Regions from separate parts of the Homo sapiens genome. Here regions 2, 3, 4, 5, 6 and 7 are each linked to region 1. The links are contacts of gene promoters, found by promoter capture Hi-C in blood cells and fetal thymus (Javierre and others, 2016). All regions are on one chromosome and are shown on one strand. Each heading gives the region's core, a stretch centred on a gene start or on the middle of the fragment in contact. The rest is flanking DNA. Distances are from core to core; before and after follow the strand shown.

Region 1 (3,137 bases), core at 455-2,954:
ATAAGAACAATAAAGGGGGGAATACACAGTGCTATGAACTTCTAGAGAAAGGTGCTATCTAAACTGAGACCTAGAACAGGAGAAGGAGGTGACAAATTAAAAAATAGAGTGAGGGAGAGAGGGTCAAGGGAGGGGTTTTGCATAGAGAGAACAGCAACTCCAAAGACTCAACCAGGAGATTAGAAAAAATATGAGAATTGAAGCTGGAAAGTTTCCCAATAATGCCTTCCTTACTCCCTTCTAACGATTCCAGATTGTCTTGGGTGATCTTAACTATTTTCTGTTTTAAAAATATGCTGACATCCATCATCTCTATCTCTAGCCCTCTCCCCTAAACTCCAGGATCTAATTATCCAAGTTTACTGGTCATATCCAGTCAGAGAGTTCAGAGGCACATGAACTCACTCAACAGGTCCAAAGGTTCAGTATGTGCTCCTCACAACCCCCGCCCAAATACTAGGCCTCCTTTAATGCCTAATTCTCAGACATAACGTTTTAAGTCTCTCCCATTCTGCTGCCTTAAGTCTTCAAACTCTTACCCAATTTAGAAACACTTGGTTTAGTTAACATTCAGGAATTTACTTTTCACAAAGGAGCGAGGGAATGGATATACTGTTGCTAACCGAACAAGGAATTAAAGAGGAGAGGGGAAACAAGGTCTTGGAAAATTGAATTTCCTTTTCCTTTACTCATTCTTGGGCAACCTAAATGACTGGAAGCCTGTTCTGGAACAGGTTGACTAGATAAATTTAGTTATTTGTGGATTCTCAGAAACCTTGAAGTTTAGCTGTCAGCCAGTCTCTGTCCTTTGGCACTTTAACACGGATTTCACCAGCTCCTTCATTTTCTGGACTTGCCCTGCCTCCAAGCTTGCCCTTCCTAAACCTTATTTCTAAGATGCAATGCCACGATCTATATAAATTTAAACATCAGAGATAACCTCCTTAAAACACTCAAAGTTCAAGGGAGTGCTTGCCCTAAGCATAAAGATCAAGCCCCGCTGTGATTGATGCACACGAGGCCCTTCCAGACTTCTTCACTCTTCATTTCTTACATTCTCGCCATCCTACACTTCACATTTTTGCAGTATCTGATCACTCATGGTTGCTACTGCTTCATTCCTCTCTGCCCACGGAAATATCGTTCCCTTACAGGTGATGTCCTCCCATTCAACTCCTAGTCATCCTTCAGTAACCTCCTCTCGGACGCCCTTCCCAACCCCACTACTCCCAAAGCACACTACATCTTACCTCCTTCTAGTGGTTCCTGCTTTTGTATAACTTTCGCCAGCCTATCACCCTGTGCTGCAACTATCTTCTACGTCCTGTCTCCCGAAGACAACACATTTTAAAGGGCAAGAAACATGCCCTAGCCTAGTTCCATCACTTAAGAATTTCACTCCGTTTTCATCCTTTCTAGCACGTACCTTAGCCTAGGCCCACCTTCACTCCAGTCTCCTTCCGCCCCGTCTCGGGTACCACTGCCAGCGTCCCGCCCAGCGCGTGCATCCGCACCCAGAACCCGCTCCCCTCGATCTCACGGAGCACCGGGTGGGAGCCCGCCTGCTCCCCCTTCCTCGCTCATGAGCCACTCCTCCAACCCCCTCACCTGAACGGCCGCGAGATGACTGCCGGCCACCGACACCGAGGACTCGCCAGGTGTTCCAACCTCGGAACCTGCCTCGCCTGGCTTGGGGGTGGAGCCGGGTGGGCCAGGCGGCCCGTCCTGTCGTTATTGGCCTGCGAGAGCTCCCGCCCCGCCTTCTCGGCGCGGTGATTGGTCTGTGCAGTTGCCGACATCGTGTGACTCGCGCGAACGAGCTCCTGGCGGTCCCAGCCATTGGCTCCGCGGATGGAGTGAGGATAGTGAGACCTGCAGAGCCAGCCAATGGTCGGCACCGCGGAGCGCCCGGAGGCGGGGAAGCGTGAGAGCGCGCCACGGCGTGAGGGGGCGGGCACAGACGGATGGCCGCCTCGCCCTGCAGCGCGGAGTCGCCTTGGCAACTGCGGTCCCGGCAGATTCCCAGTGAGAGCCTGCGCTGTGCGGGGGAGAGTGTCGCGCCGGCCGCCGTCCCAGGACTTTTATTTCAAATGTGACCTGTGTAGCAACCGCAGTTCCCAAACCCGGGAAGAAGAGAGTATAGATGAGTCTTAAAATCTATGTTGACTGTTTTGTGTTTCCAGACACCCTTGCCTTCCTTTTTCTGGTCTACCATTTAGATTTAGATCTTTCGTCTCCCTTGTTTCCCCAGCCTACGTATCCTTTAATAAATTCCTGCATTTTGAAAACGGAGAATTTCAAATGCGATTATCGTCATTTTGCAGATGAGAAATAAAGGCTGGGAAAGATTTAAAAAGATTGAACATCAAGGGAGAGTTCGGCTCCCAGGACCTTGACCTCGCTACATGGGCAGAGAACGCCCAGGTGTTGTTGCAATTGTTGTGCTGGACGATGAGTGCCCGGGGGCGGGGGCGGGGGCGGGGGCTTGACGCAGGTCTTTGCAGCTCTAAAGCTCAGTTTACACCATCTCTCAACATTAAAATATTGTGTACTGGGGTTTAATAATAAAACTGTACAGATGTGATAATATACTAAAACTTTCACTTAACGGAAGAGGTGCCTTTAAAGAAAAAACCGCACAGGGGCATCATTTGGGCTAGTGAAGGCCCTTTTTCCTCCTTCTTTATTAAGGTATAATTGACAAAAATTGTGTTTACGGCGTACACATGTTTTGATTATGTGTATATTGTGTCAAATATATACAGCTTCTGAAAACAGAATACTATTGTTTCATTCCTCCATGCTTTTGCTCAAACTGGCCCTTCTGCCTGGAATAATCAGCCATCTCCATGCCGCCCCATCAATTCAGGTACTATCTCCTTGAGGAAGTTCCCTCTTGAAAAGTGTCTTTTTTAGATTCAGTGTGACCTGTACTTATTCGTCTATCCCTCATGTTTGGCACACACATTCTTTGTAAAGTATCATGACAGCGGTCACGTCAAATGAAAAGAAATGGGATCTGTCCCTTGGTTGTCAGAGTCAGCCCTGTCTTTAGGATGCCTTTACAGTGGTGTCTGAAACCATGCCTATATACTTTATGAAGTTAATCTGGGAAAAAGGGGTGGGGGGAACGAAAT
Region 2 (3,137 bases), core at 362-2,861, 1.9 Mb after region 1:
CCAAATCCAAAATGTCCTTTGAGCAGTTCCCCTGAGTAACATGTCAGTGCTCAAAATGTTTCAGATTTTGGAGCATTGGAAACATCAGATTTTCAAATTTGGGATGCTCTACCTGTATTTATATATTTTCAATTGTATATTTTAAAATATATTTCAAATTTAAAAGACTAAAATGCTTAAAGAAAATAATTAACAGCTTATATATGTTATTTATATAACATATTAATATAAAATTAATTTTATATAAACTTAATATATATTACATATATTGATATGAGTTTTTATATATAATATATATACTTTTATATATAGTATATCTTTCCAGATATTTTACTATATATATACTTTTATATATTTATATATATATATATATATATATCTTTCCAGAGTTCCTTTTACAAAATCTCAGAATGGTTTATAAGTATTTTACACATAATTTATAAAATATTATTTTCTATATAGTATAAAAAATTCACACGGTCTCACAGAATGATAGAGGGAAATTCACACTCACTATCTAGGGTATTAAATCTCCAAGACTACATTCTTCTCTTAATAAAATTGACCTTTGCTAATGTTAAAATTTTTTTATTTAATACTTTAGGAAATAGCTGTGCAATGTTTTAAATGAGTGAAAGAATGTGGGAACTTGGAAAGAAATGTTAAGAAGTCCCATGTTTTTATTCATGGGAACATTGCCTCATAAATCATTTTTGTACTATCATGTTTACTAATTGTGTGGATTTATTAGAGTTCTTTTTGGCCAAAATAATGGTGAGCTACCTGTGTTTATATTAACTACTTTCCTGTCAGCCTGTAGTAGTTTGCTATTATTTTACTGTGATTATTATTTTTTCTCTAATTCCCATCTTCTGTACTACCAGTTCTAGCCTAGTCTGCTTGTATTTCCTCCTCCTTTATTTGTCTAAAAAGATAAACAAGCTTTAATTTGCAAAGGACATGGAGAGTTATGGATACATGATGACCTCTTAAGAACTTCTCCAATGCCAACATTCCTGCAACAAGTCTTAAAATCAGTAGTGTCATATTATTACTATTTATTCTAATATGTGTCCTTAAAAGTTAAAATGATAGAACTAGTTGAAATAGCAAATAACATTTGAAATATTTTTCTGAGATATAATGCAAGAGATAATAAGTATAAAGAGTAACAACACCCCCTGAGTTAGTTGTTTACAACCCTGACTGAACATTGAAATTGCCTGGGGAAGATTTTAAAATTACTGACGCCTAGATCTATTGCCTAGAAATTCTGATATAATTGGTCTGGAGTGCAGCATGGACATGAGATGTTTTTAAAACTTCCCAGATAATTCTAAACTACAACTAATGTTGAGAACCACTGGTCTCAGACTATCTCCAGATTATGTTATTAACCTTGACTACCCATTATAATCAATGGATGTATTTTAGAAACATAGCTTCCCAGACTCCAGGTCCAGAAATTCAAATTCTATTTTTCTGGGATGGAACCAGGCATTGTGTTTCTTATGTGCCCTAATTTTAACGTGAAGTTAAGGTAAGAATTATTGCTCAAGAAACCAAGAGGTTTAACATCGCAATATGGGAAGGTATGATATATTATCATTGTGTTTTTTTTAATTGTTGTTTTATTGATGACAAACCATAACCTTGGCCTGCTAGAAGAGTTCAATGGCACAAATTTAGTTTTTTTTGTTTTAGACGGAGTCTCGCTCTGTCTCCCAGGCTGGAGTGCAGTGGCACAATCTGGGCTCACTGCAAGCTCCACCTCCCAGGTTCACGCCATTCTCCTGCCTCAGCCTCCCGAGTAGCTGGGACTACAGGTGCCCATCACCACGCCCAGCTAATTTTTTTGTATTTTTAGTAGACACGGGGTTTCACCGTGTTAGCCAGGATGGTCTCGAACTCCTGACCTTGTGATCCGCCTGCCTCGGCCTCCCAAAGTGCTGGGATTACAGGTGTGAGCCACAGCACCCGGCCCACAAATTTAGTTTTTTAAAGTAAGTAACTTTGTCTTAAAAATGATTTGTAGTAATAGTCATTAAAAGATAAACTGAGGCACATTAAAATATTAAAGCATTTATTTGACCATTCAGTGATTCATGAATCTGGTAGCTCCTGATAAAGGAGCCAAGGAGAAGGCTTTTATAGGGTGAATTTGGAAGCAAAGGAAAGATATTTGATTGGTTAAAGTGGAGTACTAGACTTATTTGGGTCATCCCAGTGGAAAGTCCCCAGTTAGAAGTTAGCTGGCAGTTTCTGATTGATTAAGCTTAAATTTCCTTTTTATCATTTACACTGATTTGGGTTTCCTTTCCTTAGGTAGGAACTCATGGAGCTGAAGCTACCTCAGCCTACTGGCCTTCTAATTATTTCAACACAGAAATAGTACTTTACGGCACACTGGAGTTGCAATTCTATTCTGCAATTGGGTGGTTTCAGATTTGTTCTTCCTATAAATTTTGGTCAAATTAGTCATTGCATTTCTTTCTATAAGTCTGAGATTCAGATATTTGGTTGCTCTGAGAAAGTCTCTGTTGAGATAGCATTGCCATACTGGTCAGATTGAAAGTGACTTTGTATCCTTTCTATTAATGTTCTGATATGAAAGAGTGATGACTCGGATATAGTGTTAATGCATTAAAAAAGCACAGCCTGACAAATCGCTTCCTATAATACACAGAAAAATGTCTAGTCTTGAATTTATAACACAGGGAAAGGTAAAAAATTTAATTATGCTTCCTAATGTTGAACATGCACGTGACAAAGTAAATACTAAAAATCCATTCAGCTGGGCGTGGACAGGGAGAGGGAACGGTGCACATCAGAGGGTGCAGGCTACTCCAACGTTTCCGTTTCCTCAGTCTCGCGGGAAGCTCCGTTGTGGGCGCCCCGGCTGGTGGCTGAGCTCAGGCCTTCAGGCAGAGGGGAGGCGAGGGCGGGGCGGTCACGTGAGAGCACTGCCGCGGTGGGTTGTGGGGGTGCTGCGGCGCCGTTTGCTTTGCCAAACCGACAAAAGAGAGATGATGGCCAACGACGCCAAGCCCGACGTGAAGACCGTGCAGGTGCTGCGGGACACAGCCAACCGCCTGCGGATCCATTCCATCAGGGCCACGTGTGCCTCTGGTTCTGGC
Region 3 (3,137 bases), core at 281-2,780, 1.8 Mb after region 1:
CCAACTCTGTCCTTTGGGACCACATTCTGAGCTGTACTGAAAGAGGATGCAGCAAAACCACTAATGAGGTTATATCAAAAAAAAATGACAGAGCCAGAAATGAGCCAATGAAAACAGGTTCATATGCCACTCTTTTGACTTCTATGCCAAAGCAACGTACTTCTACTATACAGCCTGATAAAAAGTGAAGCTCTGATAGTCAAGGACAACTACAGTCAAATACCAATCTATCTCCCCAATCACTCAAACACAATGAGATGTAATTGCTTTCATATTCCACTCTGAAAAGGGGAAAAAAACTAACACTATAAAGAGTTGGAAATCCCACAAGCAAAGTGACAAGCAAACACTGAATTTACACAAATGTGTACAATCTAAAGTACAAAATATGCGTCAGCAGTGGATCAAAATAAAGCACAAAAAACTCGCGAAACAACGAAAGAACCAGACTGTAAGACAAAAATGGCATACAATGAAAAGAGAAAAAAATGAAAAGAAACAAAGAGGCCACATTGTGGACACAATATCGTAACTTCTGACCAGATTATAAACTTTTAAAATTTTGCTTTTATTAAAAATTAATTGAAAAAAATTTATAAAGCATGTTTCTATGCAAGAATTACTCTCAAGAACACAACGATTACGTAAAAAATAGGCAAGAAACAACATACTGTTTCAAAATACAAATATATGTAGTAACTATAAAGAAAAGTAGTGAAATTATAAATACAAAACTTAGATAATGTTTGCTTCTTAAGGTTTCCTGAAAGTTCAAAGAAGGTAACACAGGGCTTTCAAAGGCTATGTTTTATTTCTTAAAACTACAAAATGGGTAAACGAGAATTCCTGAAACTGTTCATCTTTACACTTGAAATGTGCTTTAGTAACACTCTTTTGTATCTACTCAGTTTTTAATAAAAACAACAAAACTGCTTCAGTGCCCTGGAGCGAATGGGGGCGTAACGGCAGGATTCAGGGCACTAACGAGAGGTGAACGGACGCCGAGGAAGAGGCGACTAAGCCCACATACTGAGTCTACCCAGGCCAGAGAGGCAGAGGTGTGTAGGGCCAGCGATCTCAGAAGTTTTGCCAAACTCCTCGATGCGTTACAATGGAAAGGTGCCGGGTTTCCCCCAGGAAGTAGTGACTAGCGAGAAGTTAGGCACAAGGCAAAGAGGAGCAAGGCGACGTGTGAGCACTTCAGCACTCGGACGCGGAACTCTAAGGTCCAGGCGTTGGGCCTGGGACTCGCCTCCCAGAGGCTTCGCCCCGCACCCCGCACACTCCCTGAAAATAAACACTTTGCATCCTCCCCTCTCCTAGGTTCCCGAAACCGCACCCTCCCTCTCTGCCTGCTCAACAAGAGCCTTCCGGGGAACCAACCGAGCGGTTCGGGGGAGCAGGAGGGGGCCCACCATGGTGACGTCCTCGTGGCCACGGAGCAGCTCCGCACTCTAGACCCAGGTAATCTCACCAACCGCAGGAGCAGCAGCTCACAAGAGCACCCGGGCCGAATCCCACGTGGCGCCTGAGAAGCCCGCGCCGACCCAACCGGAACAGGAGAGGCGAGTGCGTTTCTCTAAAGCGTCCCCGTTAACTGAGACCGCGTCTTTTTCGCCCGTGTTGGGCTTTTAAGCTCTAGCCCAACGGACAGCCAGACCTGCGTGCTCGCCGGGAGCGGCGGAAGGGAGCTTGCGGCGGGAGGCTGAACTCTGCCTGGTGCTGAGTGCGAGGCTGGGGATTGGAGCCCGGGTGGAGACGCTACACGCTTCCGGCCCCAAGAGCGGAGCTTGCCCATCTGTCCCAGAGCACGACTCCAGAGCGCAGCAACCTCTTCAGACAAGAGGTTCCCTCTTGCGGGCTCCCGCATCTCAGGGGCTGGGACCCTCTCAAAAGGGCCGCTCGGTGTTGGCTCCCCGGAGCTCTTGCACGGCACAGGCTCCTGCCCTCCGCTTTTCCACGTACTAGATTACCTTGGGCAAGTCCTTTCCTGCACTGAGTCTTTTTTTGCCCTGCCCTGCCCTGCCCTGCCCTGCCCCGCCCCGCCCCTCTTCTCTTTCCTTTCTTTTCTTTTCTTCTTTCCCTCTTTCCCGCCTTCCCTCATTCCCTCTTTCTTTCTTCCTCCCGGGTTCAAGCGATTCTCCTGCCTCAGCCTCCCGAACAGCTGGAATTACAGGCCTCCGCCACCACGCCCGGCTAATTTTTTTTTTTTTTTTTTTTTTTTGTATTTTTAGTAGAGACGGGGTTTCGCCGTGTTGGCCAGGCTGGTCTCGAACTCCTGATCTCAGGTGATCCGTCCGCCTCGGCCTCCCAAAGTGCTGAGATTACAGGCCTGAGCCACCACGCCCGGCCGAGTCTTAGTTTCTTTATCCGGAAAGGCCACTTCCTCATATTCAAGGCCTCTGCCAACCCAGTTTTTGTTTTCTTCTCACAGCATGTGAGAGTCTTTGTTTCACCCATACATGTTAGAATTCCGTAGACAATGTAATCATTCAAAAACTATTTATTGAATGCCTACTGTGTGCCTGGTACTGGGGATACTCCAACAATATCCCTCACTCAGCTCATTTTCCAGGGGATGGAGGCATGTAAAAATATTATTTCAAATAATATAAGTACTCTAATAAAAATTAGCTGGCGGGGGCATGTAGAAAAGCTGTTTTACACATGGTGGTCTCTATAAAGTCCTCTTTTAGAAGTGATAATTGAGCAGAGACCGGAATTGTAAGAGAAAACTAGGCATGGGAAGAAGCTCCAGGCAGGGTGAAGCTGGTGTGCCTTGATATGTGTGTGCAGCTGTTAACAGTTGAGGGTAGTTGGCTAGGTCCTTGGCGTTTTGAACAAATAATTGGACAAAACACACAAATAAAGCAAGGCAGCGAAAGCAGAGATTTATTTTAAATGAAAGTACACTACTCCACTGCGTGGAAGCAGGCTGTGGCAAGCTGCTCAAAAGCACAGGTTGCAGAATTTTCTGGGGTTTAAATACCTTCTAGAGGTTTCCCATTGGTCTTCCACAAGTCTGATTGGTTGAGGAAGGGGACCAATCTGAGGCACTTTCATTTTTCAACTGCCACACAGAAAAAGAAGGGCTTGCAACTGCCAGGCAGCAACTGCCATGCAGAAAAAGGAGGGGT
Region 4 (3,137 bases), core at 169-2,668, 1.8 Mb after region 1:
AATTAACATTAAATATAAGACCCCTCAACATGGTCTAGTTAAGACCAAAATGATTAATAAAAATCTATGTTTAAAAACTAAAAAACTGCTTGTTGATTCATTTGTTTCTTATAGATTCCAGATATTAGGCCTTTGTTGAATACAAACAATTTGAGAATATTTTCTCCCATTCTATAGGTTGTCTATTTATTCCCTTGACAGTTTATCCTGCTGTGCAGAAATTAGGTCCCATTTGTCAATCTTCGTTTTTACTGCAATTGCTTGAGGACTTAGCCATAAATTTTTTGTCAAGGCTGCTATCAAGAAGGGTATTTACTAGGTTTTCTTCTAGGATTTTTACAGATTATCCTAAGTGAACTAACACAGAAACACAAAACCAAATACTACATGTTCTCACTTATAAGTAGGAGCTAAACATTGGGTACACAAGGTCATAAACAAGGGAACAATAGACACTGGGTAATACAAGTTGGGGGAAGGAAAGGGGTAAGAGCTAAAAACACCACGTACTGGGTGCTATGCTCACTACCTGGGTAGATTCATTCTTACTCCAATCCTCAACATTACACAGTACACCTTTGTAATAAACCTACTCATGTACCTCTGAATTTAAAATCAAAGTTGAAAAAAGAAAAAAAAAAAACCTAAAAAATCGAAATCCTACTCGGTAGTTTCCCAGTTTACAAAAGAGTACAACTAGAAACCACTGGACAAAGCGGGTCTTGATGACTTAACCTGTTCCCTGGAGTCATTCCTATAACCATCTTCTCTGCAAAAGAGGCTGCTACAGAACAGCCTGGGGATATGACTCTGAGCCATCACGTCTGTTGCTGTTACTTCTTTTTTAAAAAAATAAAACTGGGGAGGAATAGTGAGATCACATACTTTGAGGTACTATAACAATGTATCTTAAACCATTTTGAAAAACAAAAAGCACACCAGGTTACCATCCTGTTGGTGCAGATCAACTGTTTGTACGCCCAACTTCAGAAAATTCTTACTTGGTCAGATAAAAAAGAAAAGGTTAAAAGAAACCCGATTTTCTTTTAGTTCTACCGGCTAGACTCAAAGGGGAAGAAAGTTCACCTGTCAGGTACTTTACACACAGCTTCAGGGGAACAATACAAGACAGACTCACCTAAATGTTTTCAGATTACTTGCATTTAGAATGTCTGGAATCTCTGGAAAAGAAAGTAATTTATCTCCATGAGGCAATGTTTTCTAAATCACATAATTTTATGTACAACAAATAATAATTTTTAGCAAGAATATCCAACAGAAAACAAAATTTCGAAGTATTGCTGTAATTAACATGAAAAATTTGCAAAAGGGGTTAGTTTAAGATGACTTAAGAAAAATCCTATTAAATGATAAATTCTAGCATAGAATCCATGAAATAAAACAAAGCTATTAGGCCAGGCGCGGTGGCTCATGCCTGTAATCCCAGCACTTTGGAAGGCTGAGGCAGGTGGATCAGGAGGTCAGGAGATCAAGACCATCCTGGCTAACAAGGTGAAACCCCATCTCTACTGAAAATACAAAAATTAGCCGGGCGTGGTGACGGGCACCTGTAGTCCCAGCTACTCGGGAGGCTGAGGCAGGAGAAAAAAAACAAAACAAAACCAAAGCTATTAACAAAATAAACCCTGTCCTTTTTTAACAATAAAAGGTACCTGGCAAAGTATAACTGTCAATTCACTAAAATAACATGCCAGGTTGTATATTTTTTCTTCGTGAAAAGTACAATGTTTTCAAACGTATAATCTGCCTTCACAAGGTAGAATTTATCTCAGGAATGCAAGAATTAATGTTTAAAAAAATCACATTTTTCCAAATGTGAAAAAAAGACTTTTTTAAATTAAAAAAAAAATTTTGCTTAAAGAAGTTCAATAAAACTTAAATCCATTTTTAATAAAAACCAGGTATATGGTAGTTCTTTACCATATTTCAAAAGTTCCATCATAAACCAATATGCATGATACACTTAAATTGGTGAAATACAAGAGGCATGAACAACAAAAACTGGAAGGCTGCTGCCAATATCTGGCCAATTCAATACAATGTTAAATGAAATTTAGTATCAAGTAATAAAGAAGATAAAATAAGCATGTTTGCTACAACTGTCTATTGACTTTTTCAATAGTTTCAGAGAATAACAGTATGAGGGGCTAGGTGTTAAAAAGTATAAATAAGCACAAAAACAATTTGTAAAGGAATCTTAATGAATCAGAAATAGTTACACCACATAAGGAGGGGAGAGGGGATGGTTCTATCTAGTCTTCTCAAAATCTTATCAAAACAGAATTTGGTGACAATTTCCCCAAAGGGAAACGGACACCTGCAAACTCATCAGAGTCTGTTCATCAGACCCATCCCCTGATTCTGGGAAAAGCACTGCAGCACAGCAGATCTGAGTTTTAGTCCTAGCTGTATCACCAACAAATGGTTTACTTTGGATGTGCTCTGATAAATACTGCCAACTCATCTGGCTGCTACATGTTGAACAGACTTTAGCAGGAAAGAGTGGAGGTACAGAGAGCAACTGGGAGGCTATTACCATAGTACAGGTGAGACGATAGTGGCCTGAACCAGGGAAGTGGGAGATGGTAGTAGTAGTAGTCAAAGTCATCAGATTCTAAACGCTTTGCTGACGGGTTGGATGTGGACTATGAAAGTGACTGTAGAGTTTCTGATCTGAGCAACTGGGCAGGTGGTAATGCCACTGACTGGAATAAGAAACCTGCAGGAGGAGCAAGTTTTAGGAGAAAAGCTGGCCTTTGTTTCATGACATGTCAAGTCTGAGATGCCCAAAAGACATGCAAGTAGAGAGTTTGAGAAATCCATATGTGATACTGCAAATTTGGAGTTCTGGAGACAAGTTAGGGTTGACAAGATCAATGTGAAAGTAATCAGTATTACTATCACGGTAAAAAAGACATGATGTCACATCACTGTCACAAACTTGATAGTTTTGTTGGGAATGTAGGGGAAAAAAAAAGAATCCAAAATTTTTCTAAACCCTCACAAAGAAAAAGACATCAAAGGAAGAAAATCAAATGAAATAAACAAGATCTAAAATAAAACCTTTGAAATCAATCACAAATTGATACTGCTATGTCATATAAAAGGAAAATAAA
Region 5 (3,137 bases), core at 223-2,722, 1.8 Mb after region 1:
TTGAAATACCTACTGAGCAAGGAACTATGGAAAACAAAGTCCAGCCCAGACAAATTCTGTGCTCGTCAAGATTATAGCATGACACAGTAAAAATGCTTATGTTAGAAAGTGAGCTCATACTGCACACGGAGAAATAACATGGAAGTGTAACAGTGGGAAAACTTATTTCCAGCTGGAAATGACCTCTAAGATGGGTTTTGTGGGACAAGTAGACACATAGAAGCAGGGAAGCAAAACACAGAAAGAAAAAAGATCGGAGACAAAGGCTCAGAAATGGAAAACTTCCAGGCATGTATAAGGAACAGCTGCTAGTTTGGTTAAGCAGAGGAGAAAGCTGGATGTAGTCCATGAGAATTTCCCTAAAAATGGGAAATAAAGCACATTTCATCTCCAGTCTGTCTGTGGTTAAAGCTTTCTAAACACATTGAAACTACTGCTTAATATAAGTTTACAGCAAAAATCCTTTTGAATTTGGAGAACTGCAAGATGTCTTGCTCATATTCCAAATCCTTTCTGCAAATTTCCCAATAAAGAGACGTAAGTTATTGTCTTCCACAGCAGGGATTCTCAACCTCAGCACTATGGACATTATGAACTGAATAATTCTTTGTTGGAAGGTACTGTCCTGTGCATTGTAGGATGTCCAGCAGCATGCCTGGCCTCTAATAAAAGTCAGAAGCACCCCACTCCAGGTACAACAATCAACAATGTCTCTAGACACTGCTAAATGTCCCCCAGAGAACAAAACTGCCCCCAGTGGTGAACCTATGGTCTACACTGAGTCAGTGTTTCAGATGATTGTTCTCCTTGCATAGATGAAGACAGCCAAGTAGGAACTTAAGAAAAAAAAAAAAAAGCCCTTCTATATTCCAAATGCATGGACTCTCTGCATAGAGAATAATTTAGCTCTTTTTATTACTAACTACCGTTTGATGCCACTGTGTTACTTAGCATACAGGAAAAATGGACACAGGCGTCCAGCCATGTATAAATGTGTGCTGCCACTTATCTGGGACTATTAGAATCATCACATACTCCTGATTATTCTTCAGAACTCTTTAAATCACTTATGAAGACTTTGCCTTGGAGTATTTTTTAAATAAAAATAGCAAGTTAACTGCTATTTCCATGCAATACACAAATCAAATTTCAACACTATCAAAGATTACTAGGTCAAGATCATTGGGTAATAAGCTCACCTTTGGCATGAAATAGCAAAAGGGGGAGAAGAAGGGAGAATTGAAATAGATGGTCTTTAAAGGCCTTTGAACTCTGAATTTTTAGTTCAGTTATTTTGCTGGAACACCAGAAAAATCAAGAATAAAACAATTTGTATTGTATCAGCCTGATATTTTCTTTAAAAACTTTTTTATAAGAAAAATGATTCTTTTATATACCCCCCTCAATTTTTTTTCCAAAAATGAATAATATATGCAGGAATACCTAGAATATGTTAAAAGTGTGGAACGTATGTTTCGTTATGAACGATACTGTGAAATCTTTAGATGAGGAACTAGTGCTGTCAAAGTAGAACAACATTTTTTAAAAGTTGCACTAATGGTCAAAAATTATTATTACTACTTTAAAGTATTATATTTGTCTATAAGTTACTTGGGAAATTTATAAATAAGTATAAAGCAATTCATCTCATAATTGTATGTAATTATTTCTGTATTTTTTATCCTAAAATGAAAATGTTTCTGGAGAGTATTGGAATACATGATACAGTACCACTATTACCACTAGATAACAACAGTGCTATTATCGAACACGTGTTCGTTGCAAATGCATTTGTATAAATAAATCAAATCCAAGTAGCATACTTCTATTTTTAAAATTCCTATCCTTAAGATCAAAGAAGTCTATAGGAGAAAGGGACCATGGAAACATTTGTATACGACTAACAGACACTGATTAATGATAAATGCCTGGTATAGTCCATTTTCGTACTCTAAAGTTTCTAAAATCAAAGGTCTGTTTTCTTGACGATTTGTTTTCTAACATCTTTTAGCATCTTCTCTTAAGTAAATATATTGATAATTGAATCTGTTCCTTCAAAGAGTTTAACTCCATGATACACTAATTAATTTTTTTAAATAGCGACTTGGGTAGGGAGAGACATGAAACCGTCAGTCTTTCTCCTAGTTTTATTAAGAAGTTCAGAGTTACTCTATTTTACTCCAAACAACAGCATTTAATTAGTTAACATTAATAGGGTTTCTCCTGGACTACGATGTAGGGAATTTGCAATATTGTGAAAAGGCATCTTCTTCCTCTGGGCCAGATGGCAAAAAGATTTTTTCTCATGCCAACTCCAGAAGTTGACCTAGATTGTGGTGTTAGGAACCATGAAGCTATCATAGGGATTAGCAGGAAAGAGTGTTGGTAGTAATTAGGGCACGAATGCTGTGTTTGCCAACCTCATGACAGATTGCACCTTTTTCTCCCTGGAGTGGGTTCTGAAAGATTAGTAGAAGTTTATTGTAAAGAGCGCGGCACTCTAAACAGAGGAATAGCATGTGCTAAAGCTTAAACCTATATTAGGATGTGCAATGTTTGGAAAACAGCTACCCAGATAGGACTTTGGATAAAGTTTACTAAGAAAGGCACTGGATGAGAGAAATCAGGCAGCTGAGGATGACGATAAAATAAATAGAGGTATAGATCATGAGCATTTATTGTGCAAGACTGCAGCAAATTTTAGGCACAATAAACTCCATTGGGCATGGCTAAAAAGAAATGGAGTGTTTTTGTGCAATAGTTTCCATAAATATATCATGCATACATTACCAATTTCCAAATACCTAAATGCTCACAAACCCATCTCTTACTCGAAGAAATTCTATAAACTGACCTAGACACAGTGATGAATTCATGGAACTAATCTCTCAAGTAAGGAGCTAATATATATAAATATATATATATATATTATATATAAAAGACTATTTTTGGAGCAGATTTAGGTTAACAGAAAAATTACAAAGAAGGTAAAGAGAGAGTTCCCACATACCACCCTGCACATACACAAGGTTTCTCCTGTTATTAACATCTTGCCTCAACGTGGTACATTTGTTACCACTGAGGAGCCAATATTCTTACATTATTAAAGTTCATAGTTACATTGGGGCTCACTCTTT
Region 6 (3,137 bases), core at 373-2,872, 1.8 Mb after region 1:
TTTCATCCTAAATGCTGTAAATGAGGAAATTTGGCCAGTTGTGGTTGCAAAGTCATTTTTTGATTTCCAAACATACCGAGTCCCTGAACCACAAGTTTCATTTCCCGCCTGTGGAGATTATGTATACCTCCAACCCTTCCCTGCTATCGCTATTAAATCAATTCAAGGGAGAGCAGTTTAAAGCAAGGACTTTAACTTGGAAAATGTCTCCGATTTCTTTGAGAATCCATTGAAAATCATGGACCTTTCCCCAGAAAAAAATAAATGCACACAATATTTTGTATACAATTTAAGAAATTTCTATACCCCAAAAGAATCTTCTCTTTAAAAAAAAAAAAAAATCTTCAGTTTTAGGACAAAATTCTTAAGAAACGCTGAGTCAGTATGGTGCCAAAAACAAATTCAAATGTAATATATTGAGCCAATTAATCATGCTTGATATCAAAGTACTGATAAAATGGATTTTTAGATATAGTAACTAAAACACTATTTTTTAAAGTATTATTATATCCAAAACTGGAACCAATACTTCAAGTTTCACAGGCTCTCATTTAAACTGGAGTAGAATATATGTACAAATATATATTCTGTTTTATTTATATATAAATCGTATATATATGATTTATTTCAAGTGTATATGTGGCTAAGAGACTCTCGAGAGTAAAAAAAAAAATCAACTCAATTACATTAAATACAATGTTCAGATGTGACACTGCTATTAAAGAGTGCAAATAGGATGTAAGAATTTTTTTGACCCATGAGAATAAGCATCAACAATGGATTGTCAGTAGATGAGCTTACTGTGGGTAGATACAAATAGACGGTTCCAAAAAGATTCTCTTTTTATTTGCTGCCACCCAAAGGAATATTCTAGAAAGACATTTCTAAACATACACAACAGAATTGAGAAAGGGATAGAAGCACTTATGAAATCAAAACCTATTATCTCTTATTGATGGAAAATTACACAGTTCCCTATTTTAACAACTACACAAAATTCCACAATTGGGACCCTAATATAAGCTTCATCAAAGCAGAAATCTTGGCTGTCTTCTTCCCTAGCATCCTACAACAATGTCCGATACATTGTGATGCTTTAATAATTAGCTCCTGAACGAAAAAAAATCTAATAATGTCATCTAATAATGACTGGGTAAGTCAACTCAGTGCTCTGGGCCTCAGTTTCTTCAACTAGAAAATGATGGGGTAAAATTGGGTATTTTTAAAAGCTTTTCTCTTTTAATCTTCCCAGTGTCTGTGCTTCTGCTTAGTACACGAGCACTGTCTCCTAAACGGCAAGGCTATGATCACTTAGGCACAGAGAGTGACCACAGACCTGTGCAGATTCCACGTGTGCCATAGCTGTTCACTGAAGAGGTAAGAGGCGAAGAGCCCACAACAGAAATGGGCTTCCAGGGAAAACATCATCAATGGCAGTGTCATCCAAGAGTCCGCTCGGCAAGGGTTTCAACCTCTGGGGAAGAGAGACTATGCCACTGTGAAATGTAACCCAATTATTCCTTTTGTTTTCTTTATGAAGCCACAATCCATAATTAAGTATCCTCATGGACACAGCTCAGTAGATTTTCTGCTGGTTCAACATGCCTGAAGCAGTAATATACTGACTTCTCTTTCAGAATGTGTGATAAAATATCTTTCACCATAACCTCCGAGAGAAAACAGACAACCAAGTATTGATTCAATATTTTTAAAGGAACTTTGTTTAAATGCATCTATTAATTAAACTTTCAAGTAATTTGTGTTCTTACATGGTGATATTAATCAACTCAGATTTAGGTGAGTTTTTTGGGGGGATATGGAAGGAGGTGAAAGTATATTCACTCTGTGAAAAACCGTCAGATATTACAATGCCACTCTAAAATATGTCCCTGAACTTTTCCTTCCTTAGGGAAGTAATTGTCAAAGTTCAGCATATATAAAAATCTCTCGGAGTGCCTGCCAGGAATGCAGATTCCTAGGCCACACCCCCAGATATAAATCTGGAACAAAGCTTAGGAATTTGCAATTTTAACTTTTATCCCAACAGTTCCACTGCAAATGTGCCTAAATCCCACATATTATATCTACCCTCAGGACAGATATACAAACATTTTTCCATTTCTCTTTTTTCCATTCATATCATCATTATGCGTGATATCATTACTCCCTCTAGTGGATGATTTTACTCAGCACCTTTTTTTCTATATTACAAATATCTTGCTTAAAACTTTTAGGAAATCCCATCTGTCATGAAAATCTTGAAAGAAACCAGTGAGAGATCAAGACAAGGTTTATAAGAAAAATTATTTTGGTAATCTAACATTGGGCTCATATATATTTACATATGCATGTAATAAGTAATGTGCATATATTTTGTAGAGAAATTCTTAATCATCATTTAGTTGACTGAACATAAAATGGCTTATCTGTTTTATAAAAATAATTTGGTAGCTTTGAATTTACTGGTCACACTATTTTTAGAATATTTATGCCTGGTTTACTTCCCTGTTTACTATGTGCTAACTAGATTATCTCATATAATTCCAGCAAACTCTATACAAGAGACACTGTTGTCATCCTGATTTTACCAATGAGAAAACTGAGGCATTAGGAGGTTAGGTTACTTGACCCAAGCCAGACAGGGGTCTCTGACCCAAGTCTCCCTAACCCAGGAGTCTGAGTTCTTAGTTGCTTCGCTCCAAGCCTCTCTGACCATGTGGCTTCTAGCCTGTTCGACCTAACTACCACATTGTACTCCTCTCCCTCCACACCACCCCAGGCCTCCTGCTCCTACCCCAGCTCTCTCTGCTCTCCATTGTTCTTTCCAACACCTTCTATGTTCCCTTGGCCTCTGACTCTACTAATACCTTTGCATTTGGACAATTTCTCATCTGGCAGTTGTTAACACCTCTCTCATGCATCCAGCAGCACCACTGAGTCACAATTCTTAGTGGCGTATTCCTCACATTGTAAACTAACGTGACAAGCATATCAGTACAATATATATCTCTTACTATTACTTTAAATAAATGCACCTTTTTCTAAAGCCTTAAAAATGATATTTCAACCATGCTTGGATTTATAAGTTGCATTTTCCCTGCTATCACACCTCTATTTTTTACTCAACTGGTGTGTCT
Region 7 (3,137 bases), core at 198-2,697, 1.7 Mb after region 1:
CTAATTTTTTTTTTATTTTATTTTTAGTGAAGACAGGGTCTCACTGTGTTACCCAGGCGGGTCTCAAACTGAGCTCAAGCAGTCCTTCTGCCTTGGCCTCCCAAAGTGCTGAGTTTACAGGCATGAGCCACTCACTGGCTTATACCATATTTTCTTTCTCTATTGATAAGTTGATGGACATTTAGGTTGTTTCCGTAGCTTCACTCTCAAACTGAGCTCAAGCAGTCCTCCCGCCTTGGCCTCCCAAAGTGCTGAGTTTACAGGCATGAGCCACTCGCTGGCTTATACCATATTTTCTTTCTCTATTGATAAGTTGATGGACATTTAGGTTGTTTCCGTAGCTTCACTCTTGTCAATAATGCTGCAATGAACATGGGAGTTCAGATACCTATCTGAGGTCCTGATTTCAATTCTTCTGGATACTTAGACGTGGGATTGCTCGCTCATATGGTATTTCTATTTTTAATTCTTTGAAAAACCTCCACACTGTTTTCCATAGCAGCTGCACCGTTTTTATTCCTAACAGCGTACAAGGGCTCCAACTTCTTCACATCCTCAGGAGCATTTATCTTGTTTGGGTTTGGGTGTGTGTGTGTGTGTGTGTGTGTGTGTTTGTGTTTTGATAATAGCCATTCTGATGGGTGCGAGGTGACATTTCACTGTGACTCTGATTTGCATTTCCCTGATGATTAGTGATTTTGAACACCTTTCTATATAGCTGTTGACCATTTGTATGTCTTCTTTGGAGAAATGTCTTTTTAGCTCCTTTGCTCATTTTTTAATGTAATCTTAATTTTTTATTTAAATTATGTAGTGGGTTCCTACTCAACTAAATACAATTAAAGTTAGTTTGTGTGTGTGTTTGTGTGTGTGTGTGTATTGGCACTGGTTGAGGGAAATACCAGGCTCTGTGTAATCTTTATTTTTCAGCATGATATCTCCCTACTAAAGTAATTAATTGTATTATTATATCATATAATAATAATGTGGTATTATTGTATATACTAAATAAATATACTAAATATATACTAAATATTGTATTTAGTTGGAGTAAGAACTTTCATGCTCTTTTCATACTTGGCCACATAATGTTACCAAATTACCCAGTCAATCCTACTTCTAAGCATTGACTGAAAACATCTTCTATGCCTAGTATATTCTACCAACATCCTTCTCCATCTGCCATAATTCTACCCCAGCTTCAATTCCAATTCCCATGCCACATCTTCCATTAAACTTTCTACCCTCCCCCGGTCCCCAATCTGAGATGATCTTTCACTCCTTTGCATACAACAGCACTTGACATGGCACACATCCCATTTTAAATGTATCCTGTCTAATTTTGCAGTTGTCTGATGCATAAACTGTCAATATAAACTTCTTAAAGGAAAAAGACTGAGACTAATTCATCTTTATATTTACCATAGGACCTTATAAAACCTTGCATATATACATAAGCAACAAATTACTTGTTGACTGAATGAATGAATGAATGAGTGAATAAATGAATAAAAGTTGATCATTCTTCACTCAATGTGGTTGGAACTGCTGTAAAACATCAGTATTTTGTACTTACTTGCCTTTGTAGAAGAATTCATATGCAAAGGCGTATTTCTAATTCAATGCATTTTTGGTTATCTGTAAATAAAGTGCCTGCTTTGTCAATTATCCATGGCAACTTGAGACTTTCTTTGATGTAATGCTCAGCCAGATAAGATTAATGAGTGGACAAAATTGGAAGGAAGTCATGGTTGAGGATGAGCTTAGAAAAATTCAAACACCTAGCCATCACAAAAAAAAGATCAGAAAATCAGTTTGAATTAAGAATTTCTGCCACATGCAGAAATGAAAAAGGCTAAAAGGTTATAACTGCATAATTTTTCTGATAGCTGTTATTATGTATATACAAAAGCCTTCTCCTGTATCTGACCATATATATTTCTTTGATTATAGCTACATATTAAAGCCAAATGAGTTTTTATTATCTGTCCCTTTGTTTTGCCTTTTTACTTCAATGTATGCAGCTAACAAAAATTTAGCCTAATAACTGTAAGCACATTTGCTTAGAAATATCTCTAGTTTAATTTTGTCAGTCTTACAAATGCACCCAAAAAGACCTCAAAGCTGATATAAAATGAATATTTATGACATATGCAAATGTAGAGAAAATCATAACCTTCGGATATTCGTTCAATATATATTATCTATTTACTTATCCACAAGTCATCAAAATTGTAAGGTAGGATCTGGAAAGATAAATGGCACTGGGGAACTCATTTCCTTTATGCAGAAATACATGGTCCTCTGAGCTAACCAATGAGTATAGAGAGGGCAGTAAAGCGATGGTTAACAGGGAAGGGATTATCCTAAAAGATGCAATCCAGCTTTTGATTTCTCCTGATTTGGAGGATTTGGACAGTCTGAGCTGATCTTAAGATTGCTAGATATACTGACTGGGACTCCTAGGGGCTACACACATCAATAGAGGGAATGGGGGAATCTTAATGTGTTTCAAGAGCCCATGGAGACCTCTCAGATAGTCTTCAAAGAGGCTCCGGCCCACTATGAGACTGAACCACTAGGCTAGATGATAATAGAATCTCAGTGGGAATCCTCAGTCCCAAGCAGAATTTAAAGTCCTAGTATCAATGGCATCGAACCATCTCCAGAGGGGATGAGACACCCAAGAGAAGCAATTCCAATAGAATCTTCCCAATCCATTGCAGAATTCAATGTCTGTGAATTCAAATAAGACTTGGCCTCCTCTGCTTTCATTATTGACCAAGCAAGGTGATCATTATCTTCTTCTCCACTGTTTTCCATCAGTGTGATGTCTGGTGGTGAAAAAAAAAAAAATGTGGCTGATTACTTGCGACTCTTGGATCAGCTCCAGGAATAGAGTTAGGAAAGCCAGGGACATTGCCATGTCATTGTCTTTGTTGTTGATCATTCCCTACAGCTCTGTGCAGATGGTCTGAGGTTTTGACCAAGTCAGTGGTGACAAATTAGGGCATGAAATTAAACTCAGGAAGTCATGCTATGTAGCAGCTTTTTTGAGTTGAAAATATTCCTTTGAGAAAACAAAACACTTTTAAAAAATCACATATGTATGAAGAACTGTCACTCGTCTGCACATG

Evidence for each region. Contacts are between HindIII fragments. The CHiCAGO score rates a contact against its expected background, and 5 or more counts as called.
Region 2: a contact is called between a fragment that was not itself captured here and the fragment with the promoter of MSMO1 in region 1, in 4 of 17 cell types (monocytes, total B cells, naive CD8 T cells and 1 more). The highest score is 9.3, in monocytes.
Region 3: the fragment with the promoter of TMA16 here is called in contact with the fragment with the promoter of MSMO1 in region 1 in 3 of 17 cell types (naive CD4 T cells, total CD8 T cells and total B cells); the score reaches 5.5 in naive CD4 T cells.
Region 4: a contact is called between a fragment that was not itself captured here and the fragment with the promoter of MSMO1 in region 1, in 6 of 17 cell types (total B cells, total CD4 T cells, naive CD8 T cells and 3 more). The highest score is 8.8, in total B cells.
Region 5: a contact is called between a fragment that was not itself captured here and the fragment with the promoter of MSMO1 in region 1, in 5 of 17 cell types (total B cells, total CD4 T cells, naive CD4 T cells and 2 more). The highest score is 8.8, in total B cells.
Region 6: a fragment that was not itself captured here is called in contact with the fragment with the promoter of MSMO1 in region 1 in 12 of 17 cell types (non-activated CD4 T cells, total CD4 T cells, fetal thymus and 9 more); the score reaches 22.4 in non-activated CD4 T cells.
Region 7: a fragment that was not itself captured here is called in contact with the fragment with the promoter of MSMO1 in region 1 in 7 of 17 cell types (M0 macrophages, total B cells, naive B cells and 4 more); the score reaches 20.7 in M0 macrophages.

Annotation. Positions count from the first base shown.
Region 1 is chr4:165,326,236-165,329,372 of GRCh38, reverse strand. It overlaps MSMO1 (methylsterol monooxygenase 1), which reads right to left and starts at 1,704. Exons shown (of 6, transcript NM_006745.5): 1 at 1,609-1,704. RefSeq lists an enhancer at 1,406-1,675 and a silencer at 1,766-2,105. The HindIII fragment of the contact is 2,277 bases long and covers 872-3,137 here.
Region 2 is chr4:163,473,624-163,476,760 of GRCh38, reverse strand. It overlaps TKTL2 (transketolase like 2), which reads left to right and starts at 3,007. Exons shown (of 1, transcript NM_032136.5): 1 at 3,007-3,137. The coding sequence starts at 3,027. The HindIII fragment of the contact is 1,333 bases long and covers 945-2,277 here.
Region 3 is chr4:163,493,083-163,496,219 of GRCh38, reverse strand. TMA16 (translation machinery associated 16 homolog) reads right to left here and starts at 1,530. Exons shown (of 7, transcript NM_018352.3): 1 at 1,416-1,530. The coding sequence starts at 1,418. LOC124900805 (a long non-coding RNA gene) reads left to right here and starts at 996. Exons shown (of 2, transcript XR_007058354.1): 1 at 996-1,058; 2 at 1,324-3,137. RefSeq lists enhancers at 954-1,103, 1,134-1,273, 737-1,639 and a cis regulatory region at 2,921-3,137. The HindIII fragment of the contact is 17,381 bases long and covers 1-3,137 here.
Region 4 is chr4:163,515,478-163,518,614 of GRCh38, reverse strand. TMA16 (translation machinery associated 16 homolog) reads right to left here. Exons shown (of 7, transcript NM_018352.3): 6 at 1,139-1,181. Among named protein-coding and RNA genes, the nearest start is that of TMA16, 22 kb to the right of the region's middle. The HindIII fragment of the contact is 9,289 bases long and covers 1-3,137 here.
Region 5 is chr4:163,533,473-163,536,609 of GRCh38, reverse strand. All of the region lies in intron 9 of MARCHF1 (membrane associated ring-CH-type finger 1), which reads left to right. Among named protein-coding and RNA genes, the nearest start is that of TMA16, 40 kb to the right of the region's middle. The HindIII fragment of the contact is 2,117 bases long and covers 414-2,530 here.
Region 6 is chr4:163,554,089-163,557,225 of GRCh38, reverse strand. All of the region lies in intron 8 of MARCHF1 (membrane associated ring-CH-type finger 1), which reads left to right. Among named protein-coding and RNA genes, the nearest start is that of TMA16, 61 kb to the right of the region's middle. The HindIII fragment of the contact is 782 bases long and covers 1,232-2,013 here.
Region 7 is chr4:163,592,235-163,595,371 of GRCh38, reverse strand. All of the region lies in intron 7 of MARCHF1 (membrane associated ring-CH-type finger 1), which reads left to right. Among named protein-coding and RNA genes, the nearest start is that of TMA16, 99 kb to the right of the region's middle. The HindIII fragment of the contact is 4,571 bases long and covers 1-3,137 here.